Regions from separate parts of the Homo sapiens genome. Here region 1 is linked to region 2. The links are contacts of gene promoters, found by promoter capture Hi-C in human tissues and cell types (Jung and others, 2019). All regions are on one chromosome and are shown on one strand. Each heading gives the region's core, a stretch centred on a gene start or on the middle of the fragment in contact. The rest is flanking DNA. Distances are from core to core; before and after follow the strand shown. Region 1 overlaps LOC105379349 (a long non-coding RNA gene). Region 2 holds the start of LEPROTL1 (leptin receptor overlapping transcript like 1).

Region 1 (4,653 bases), core at 1,811-4,310, 720 kb before region 2:
CTAGCTACTCCGGAGGCTGAGGCAGGAGAATCTCTTGAACTTGGGAGGCAGAGGTTGCAGTGAGCTGAGATCACGCCATTGCACTCCAGCCTGGGCAACAAGAGCGAAACTCCGTCTAAAAAAAAAAAAAAAAAAAAAAAAGAGTGAGCGTTGTCTGTAAATAATTGTAGTCAATCAATGATTTGAGCCAATCCAAAAAAAAAAATTCTAATTTTACCTTGATTTTAACTTTCACCGCATTATTTAGCATATTGCTAGTTTTGCCAATAAAGACATTTAAAAAAAATTTAATGTGTTAATTAGCAAAGTATTGGTTGTTGCTTGAGATGCAGATGATAGAAACTTCAGATTTAGCAGCTTTTGGAGGGTGGTCTTTTGAGGGCCAGCTGAACTGTGATTTCTCCATTGCATGTTGGCTGACCGGCTCTAGAATTAAAGCTTCAGTGAGCTGGCACATACATAATGTCCTACTGATTGTACTGAAGTATTTTAAAGTAAATTACAAATATTATAAAGGTGGTTGGGGAAGACTGGAAGGTGGTGGAGGAGTGAGTCCTGCATCCTTTGGGAAGCATGCTGGGCTGAGGGGACCATGTGTGCAATGGTCAGCTCAGCAGGAGTGTGCCTGGCCTGTCTGAACAACAGCAAGGAGGCCAAAGTAGCTGGTGCTGAGTCCAGGAGGGAGAGAAGGGGAGTATGTGGTGCCAGAGAGGCGGTAGGGACCAGATCACCTGGGGCTTCATTGGCCGTTGGGTGATGGAAGCCTTTGGAGAGTTTTGCACGGAAGAGTGACATGAGCTGGATTGGATTTTCCAGGATCAATCAGGCCACCATGTTGAGAATTGACTGTAGGGGACAAAGGCCAAAGTGGGAAAGCCAGTTGGGAGCCTGCTGAAACAGTCCAGGTGAGACTAGCCAGGTCTGCAGATAAGTTGCAGGTAGAGTGACAGAATTTGGCGATGGATGGGGGTGAGGTCTTAAGAGTAAAAAAGAACCAAAAGCTAACTTAAGATGTCTGAGCTGAGCAGCCAGAAGATGGGAGCTGCAATTCACTGACACGAGGAAGACTGCTGGAGAAGAGGTGTTGGGGAGGGTAGGGGAGGGTCAGGAATTCAGCTGAACAAGCTTGAGAGGTGGAGTGGTCACGTGGAGTGTACAGTTGCACATAGGAGCTTTAGGTTCAAGAGAGGAGAATAGGCAGGGGTCGTAAATTTGGGGATAATCCACATAGAGATAACACTTAATGTCATGTATCTGCATGTGATAACCAAGACAGTGAGTGCAGATGGAAGAGAGAAAAGAGCTGGGTATAGTGGCGCACACCTGTAGTCCCAGTTACTCAGGAGGCTGAGGTGGGAAGATCACTTGAGTCCCGGAGGTCCAGGCTACAGTGAACTATGATGGTGCTGCAGCACTCCAGCCAGGGCAATGCAGTGAGACCCTTGTCTCTAAAAAAAATAGATAGGGAAAAGACCCCAGGATCAAGCTCTGAAACTCTCTAACATTAGGAGTTTAGGGAGATGAGGGAGAGTTAGAAAGAAGTCTGAGAAGCCACTGATGAGAGCAGATGGGAAAGAACGCCAGAGGAGCAAGTGACCAGGCAGAGGAGGGATCAACTGTGGAAGAGGAGGACCGACGTCTGACCACTGGGTTAAAAAATGTGGAGGTCACCAGTGCCCTTGGAGAGAAGTAGTGCAGATAAACAGTTGGGGTGGACTCAAGAAAGATGGGAGAAGCAGAGTTGGAGACAGTGATTATAAACCACTCTTCTGTTCAGTATTGCTGAAAATGGCAAGAGAAAAATGGGAGGTAAGTCCTTGAGTTTCCAGTGCTATTTGCATGAAGTCATTCCTGTATTTCTTGATCGTTTCCTACAGGCTAGGGATGGGTGCCAGATGAACAAGGCCTAGCCACTCCCCAGCAGAGGAAATTCTTCTGCAAACAATGATAATTCCGAGTGGCAGGTATTCTAATACAGGATTGTACTAAGTTCTGTGGGAGCATGAAGAGGCAGAGACAAACTTTGTGGAAGCCCAGGGAAGTGGCATTTGAGTTGGTTGTAAAGGAAGGGTGGTGGCTGCCAGGTAGAGTAAGGGAAGAAAGTTGTTCTCAGTGGAAGAAAGAGAGTGTGTCCAGGCACAAAATGGGGGATGTCTGGAATTCATGCAGTGGAGGGAGGTGGGGGCTGAGGCTGTTAAGGTTGTAGACTTGTGTGGAAATTGAACTTTTATCCCAGAGACCACAGGAAATGCTGGGAGTCTTTTTAAAAATAATTAATTAATTATTTAAGTAGTCAAATAAAAATTGTATATATTTATGGTGTACAACACAATGTTTTGAAATGTGTATGCCAGCCTGACGTGGTGGCTTACTTACGCCTCTAATCCCAGCGCTATGAGAGACCGAGGCAGGAGGATCGCTTGAGCCCAGGAGTTTGACACCAGCCTGGGGCAAGATGGCAAAACTCCATCTCTACAAAAAAATACAAAAAAATTAACCAGGCATGGTGGTGTGCACCTGTAGTCCCAGCTACTGGGGAGGCTGGGGTGGGAGGATCACTTGAGCCCGGGAGTTCGAGGCTGCAGTGAGCCAGGATGGCGCCACTGCATTCCAGCCTGGGCAACAGAGTGAGACCCTGTCTAAAACAAAACAAAATAAAACACCGAAAAAAGTATGTATGCCTTGTGTGTTAAATTAAGATAATTAACATATACATTACCTCACATACTTATTACTTTTTGTAGTGAGAACACTCATCTACATTTTTAGTGATTGTCAAGACCACAATACACGTTGTTTTAACTATCGTGCCGTGTTGTACCATAGGTCTCTTGAACTTGTTCCTCTTGTGTAACTGACATTTTGTGTGCTTTGACCAACATCTTCCCACTCCGTTCCCCCAGCCCTCAGTCCCTGGTCACCACCATTCTGCTCTCTGCTTCTAAGAGTTCAACTTTTTTAGATTCCACCTGTGCGTGAGATGAAAGAGTGTCGGGATCTAAACTGTATTTGGGGAAGATACTTCTGGGGTCTTAGGGTTAGAGACTAGAGGCAGAGAGACCAGTAGGGGGTTTCTGCCATGGTTTCGGCAAGAAACGGGGGGCCAAGATGAGGGCAGTGGCTGAGAGGAAGTTCAGGAGGGGAAGGATGTGGTGGGAGCCACAGGGCTCAGTGACTGCTGGAGATGGGGACTAGCGGAGGGCAGGCCTGGGTAACTCACAGGTTTCTGGCTGGAACTGAGCAGATATATTGATGAGTCTTTTCATCCTCATAGTACTTACCACGTAATAGGTTCCTGAAAAATAGGCCTTGCTTGTTTGCACTTAAATATGAAAATATGAAAAACCTACATATATATATATATATATATATTTTTTTTTTTTTTTTTGAAAAGAGAAAAGGTCTTAGTCTTTCGCCCAGACTGGAGTGCAGTGGCGATTATAGCTCAAAAAACCTATAAGTGGGCCGGGTGTGGTGGCTCACACCTGGAGTTCCAACACTTTGGAAGGTCGAAATGGGAGGTTTGCTTGAGCTCAGGAGTTTGAGACCAGCCTAGGCAACATGGTGAGACCCGTCTCTACAAAAAATTAAAAAATTAGCCAGGTGTGGGGGTGCATGCCTGTAGTCTCAGCTGCTCAGGAGGCTGAGGTGGGAGGATCTCTGGAGCCTAGGAGTTTGAGGCTTCAGTGAGCTATGATCACACCACTGCACTCTAGTCTGGGCAGCCGAGGGAGAACTTGTCTCTAAATAAACAGAAAAAAGAAAAAGTAAAATAAAAAAAAATTTATATAAGTGAATTCTGAAATCAGTTTGCAAGAAATCAAGAGCCCAGCACACAGAATGCCCAAGTTTACAGAGACTCGCAGGGGGTCTGTGTACCTGGCAAGCTCAAGAGGACTTCCATGGAGCTGGACACTCACCATCTCCCTGAGGAGCAAAGATAACCACGAGGAATAACCAGAGCAGTACTGTGTGACAGCGTTGACAATCTGTGATGTCCTGTGTGCTGCAGATGGAAGTACACTGGGAGTCTGGAGAAGAGAAAGACCAGATGAGACTTCCAGGTAGGCCCTGAAGGGCAGGTAGGATGAGGACAGGTGTGAATGTTTCTTATGCCTTTGCTATCTGCCAGCAGCTGTTCTAAGTGATACCCGAACCCAGTTGATCCTCACCACAGATCTATGACGGGGACCATGCGATTGCTCCCAATTTACAGATGAGGACAGTGAGGAACGCACAGCTTAGGTCACTCCCTGAGGTTCTCTGGTAGGAGCTTGCAGGTGGTAAGCTCAGGTGGGCTCGCCCCAGAGACTCTTGAAACCTCCACAGTGCTCACTGATGTGCACAGGTGGAAGGGCCGTGGATAGCCCTTCAGAGACGCAGCAAGCCTCTGTGACCGGCCCAGGGGTGAGCAGGAGGTGAGCTCTGATAGGCTGTTGGGGAGATGGCCTTCACAGGCAGTTCTTTGTACCCAGAGACAGTTGGTTACCCAGGGGAAATCCTTCCTGACCATGGAAATCCCGGGGAGGAGGAGAAGGGAAGGAAGTGGAGAGGCTGCAGGGAGGTGCGGGCCCCCAGCGCCAGGGGTGCAGAGTGGGCAGGCCGGGTGCTAACTGCCCAGGGGTGTGGCAAGCAGGGCCCTTGCTAAGGGTG
Region 2 (4,371 bases), core at 402-2,901:
CCTGTCTTAGCCTCCCAATGTGCTGGGATCACATGCCTGAGTCACCACACCAGACTTCAAAGTGGCATATTTTAGAGTGACATATTCTGATCCCCTTTACTAGCAATTATCATTATTGCAATTTTACATTTTTTGTGTGTCTGTCTTCCTCACCAGTCTGCAAACAGTACCTGGTTTTGCACATCTCAGCGTCTAACCCTGTGCCTAACACATAGTAAATGTTCTATAAATAATTGTAGGATGTGTAAATAAAGGTGTTGAACCTGGGCTTTCACTTTTTTTTCCTTGCCTTGTTACTACCAAAAAGACAGCCACCCAAGGGACTGGATTTCTATTAAATCCACCCTTTACTGAGCCCTGCTGCTCCTATCTCTGGAGGTGGGTCCTCACCAGAACCCTAGTCCTGTATAGGAAACCAAGGAGCCAAGTGCAGACCACCCAACTAACCTTAATTATAGGACTGGGGATGGAGGGATGGAGGGAGAGAGGAAAAGGCGCAGTAAAATAATGTGCGCAGTGGCTCACACCTGTTGTCGTAACCGAGCGAGTTATAGAGAAACACCACACTTTGAGACTAATTCAGGAGTCCTTTATTGCCGGCGACCGAGAGACGACTACAGCTCAAAATTCTCTCGGCCCTGAAGAAGGGGCTAGATTTCTTTTTATACCTTGGTCTAAATAGGGAAGGGGTAGTCTAGCTGAAGCAATTTTTACAGAAGCAGAACAGGCAAAGAGTTAAAAGATAAATGGTTATAGAAACAGTTACAGGAAAATAAACAGTTCCAGGTGCATGGGGCTTAAATTATCACAAAGAGATAAACGCAGGGGCTTTGGGTACCATCAACCGAGCGCGTTCCCAGGAGCTGCTGGTACAGCTTGCCTCAGTATCTTATCAGTAAGCACATTCCTGGATGTGCTTGGTGTCAGTCTGCACCAGTTATGTCCTTAAGGGAGGGGGACAAGGTGCTGCAAGCGAAGAAACCAAAATGGAGTCTGTCCCGCTCTCTCAGCTAAGAGCGAGTCAATCAGGTTAAAACAAGGTAGGGTATCAAGCTGTAATCCCAGCGCTTTGGGAGGCCGAGGAGGGCAGATCCTTGAGCTCAGGAGACCAGCTTGGGCAACAAGATGAGAGTCTCACACCCCGCCCTGTCTCTACAAAAAACAAAACAAAACAAAACAAAAAAAAGCCAGGCATGGTGGCTCATGTCTGTGGTCCCAGTTACTGCGAGGCCGACGTGAGAGAATCACTTGAGCCCTGGAGATCGAGGCTGCAGTAGCCGTGATCACACTCCAGCCTGGGCGAAAGAGACCCTGTCTCAAAAAACAAACAAAACAATGTGAAATTAAGCCAAAAGCCATCACACGTGCATCCAAAGGACGGCCGCTACCCGCGACCCCTTCCCAACGCACGCGGGAGGTTGCGGGATCAGGGACAGGGGCTTCAGCAGGGAGCCCCCAGACCGGCCCTGACAGGAATTCAAGACCTGGCGCCTGCTCATTCCCCCAGTCGGGGCGGCGGCGGCAAGCCTCGGCCGGCGGCGATCTGCACACCCGCGGAGAAGAGAGGCAGGGGGTCGACCCCACAGCCCAGCCCGGCGCGTCCCCCGCGCCCCCGCGCGAGCCCGAGTCGCCGGCGGAAGTGCTGCGTCGCGCACTTCCGGGTGTTGTCTGGCCGCCGTAGCGCGTCTTGGGTCTCCCGGCTGCCGCTGCTGCCGCCGCCGCCTCGGGTCGTGGAGCCAGGAGCGACGTCACCGCCATGGCAGGCATCAAAGGTGGGCCTGGGTTGCAGGACGCGGGAGGGCTGGGGCCGGCGGGGGAAGATGGGCCGGGGGTCCCACGCGGCCCCCGCACTTCCCCTCCGGGCTCGCGCGCGCGCGTGGGGTCCCTGCGCCGGGGAAGCGACCCCCGCCCCGGCCCTGCGCTTGGCCCGGAGGTGGGCGCGGCGCCCTCGGGCAACGGACGGTTGCGACCCCGGCTTCGCCCCGCAGCCCCCACTTTCTGCCGATTTCGGCAGCCTCTCTCCCACCCATCGCCCCCCGGACAAAATATGAAGTGGTTGGCGGTCAGTGAGGAGTCCCGTCGCGACTTGGACGGCCACACACGTTTTGCAGGAGTTTGCATCCGAGAGAGAGGCAGGCAGAGCGTGGGATTGAGAAGGCTGAGGCTGCTAGAGATGCCAGCTATGGAAAACCAGTCATTTCCCACCGAAAGGCACAAGTGCGGTCTGCGGGCGCTGCACGGGTCTGCCCGAAACCTCGACCCCACGTCCACCCCGGCCGCCCGCGCCCGAGGCTTTACAGGCTCCCGAAACGGGTGCATTTTCATCTGCGGTGTCTGGACCCTAGAGTTGATCCTGTAGGCGACCCCAAAGTGCTCCTGGCTCTCTTCCCTCTCCGCAGTTGCACCCTGAGGCTTTTTCAAATTTCAAAATTTTTCTTTTTTTCCTTTTTTTTTTTTAAGAAGATAAAATACTGGTACAACTTAATGAAAAACTACTGGCTTATTCATGTATTTTCTTTTAAAAAAAGGAATGTTGCATTTGTTCCACCTGTTAGGTAGTTTTGTTGTCAGTGTGATGAGAAGCAAAGTTTTCAGCTACTGCTTAACTAATTACATTGATTTCTTGACCTGCCGCTCTGTAGAAGGGCAGTCAGGCAGGAAGCAGGTAACTTTGGGAGCAGTGGTTTTCTTTGTATTTTTTCTTCTCTAAGGAAAACTTAATCGAGTTTTTTTTCAGGGTCACAGTCTTACTGTTTCTTGTTTATTTTCAATGTCTGAAAACATTTCATTTCCCATATAAAACCTTGTCATTTAAGCAACTGGGATACTTTGTAATCTCCTTTTGAACTATGATAGACTCTAAACCCTTATGTGAAAGGCAGTTATTGTGAATTGCTGTGGTTTTTAGGATGTTGCCCGTTTCCCTGTTCTTCCCTGTTTCTTCAGTGTCAATAATGCGGGGGTCTCTTAAGAAAATAGCTTTGTAATTTACTTCTCCAGACCTAGGGAAATACTGCATTAAACTGATGAAGGTGCCTCAGGTGAACTGCACTTTTGATTTCAGCAGGATTTTCTGGTTGTTATGAGTCAGTATGTTTCTTTCTCTTGGCCTAATATCTTTATATTAGGAAGGAGTGTTGCTGTAATTAGAGACCATTAGGCATTGCTTGAGCCATTTGTCTATTACTTTTTGATATATTGGATTTTCTGGTAACTCCCAGGTTAGAGAAGTGGTCCCTCCTTCTACTCTAATTTCTTTGTAATCACAGAATCAGCATCTTGTCTCTAGAGAGTTTTGCTAGATAATTGGGCTGCTCCATGCCTAGCCTAGAGGCTTTGGGAGTAGAACCCAGACTTATCTAAGCTTTGTCTTCCAAATGTTGCATCACTCAATTACTGTATGAATTCTTGCCTTGTTGATGTGTCATTTAAGAAACAGCTTATATACAAATGATGAAGTGTATATATAAATCTTCCTAGTTGCCAATTTCATAAGATTGAAGAAACTGCAAGTTTTGAGAACACTTTTAAGCAATTTATTTAACCTCTAATTGGCTACCTTATTCGGTATGACTGGAAGATGAGATGTCACATCAAACTGTGTTATGAATATTTAAAAAAAATTTAGTATTTAATCCTGGCGCGGTGGCTCACACCTGTAATCCCAGCACTTTGGGAGGCCGAGACGGATGGATCATGAGGTCAGGAGTTCAAGACCAACCTGTCCAAGATGGTGAAACCCCATCTCTACTAAAAATACAAAAAAATTAGCTGGGCATGGTGGCAGGCACCTGTAATCCCAGCTACTCAGGAGGCTGAGGCAGGGAATTGCTTGAACCCGGGAGGCAGAGGTTGCAGTGAGCCAAGATTACGCCACTGCACTCCAGCCTGGGCAACAGAGTGAGACTCTGTCTCAAAAAAAAAAAAAATATATATATATATACACACACACACACACACACACACACACATATTTAGTATTTAATGGAGTAGAAGTATTATCTCAAGGTATCTTGATTCCCCCAAACAAATGTTATTCCAGTATTCATATTCATAGCACTTACAATAAGACAATCTTGGTTTATGTTTTTAAAATTGTTTTTTGATACCTGAGCCTTATCTCATTTTAGTCCCTTGGTTTTTTTTTTTTTTTAAGGAATCATTTTTCATTAACTTTGTAAGAGTGTAATCAAAGAATTTAGGCCTTCTTTTTTGATAAAAACTTGAATGACTGTTCTCTGTCACAGAACAGCCACCTTCAGAGGCCCTCATGGTCCTAAGGTGGCTTGCCTCTTGCGGAGATTACCGTGAACATGCTTTTTGAGATTTTTCTGCCTGGTTTAAATTTTTTTTGTTGTTTCCTCCCTCCTG

What was found. The method cuts DNA at HindIII sites, captures the fragments that hold promoters and counts their contacts. A contact is called where the count stands out against the background at its distance.
Region 1: a fragment that was not itself captured here is called in contact with the fragment with the promoter of LEPROTL1 in region 2 in 1 of the 25 tissues and cell types used here (spleen).

Annotation. Positions count from the first base shown.
Region 1 is chr8:29,368,364-29,373,016 of GRCh38, forward strand. It overlaps LOC105379349 (a long non-coding RNA gene), which reads right to left. Exons shown (of 3, transcript XR_949623.3): 2 at 3,921-4,031; 3 at 1-115. Among named protein-coding and RNA genes, the nearest start is that of DUSP4, 20 kb to the left of the region's middle. The HindIII fragment of the contact is 8,265 bases long and covers 1-4,653 here.
Region 2 is chr8:30,093,757-30,098,127 of GRCh38, forward strand. LEPROTL1 (leptin receptor overlapping transcript like 1) reads left to right here and starts at 1,652. Exons shown (of 4, transcript NM_015344.3): 1 at 1,652-1,772. The coding sequence starts at 1,757. RefSeq lists a silencer at 1,500-1,959. The HindIII fragment of the contact is 5,830 bases long and covers 1-4,371 here.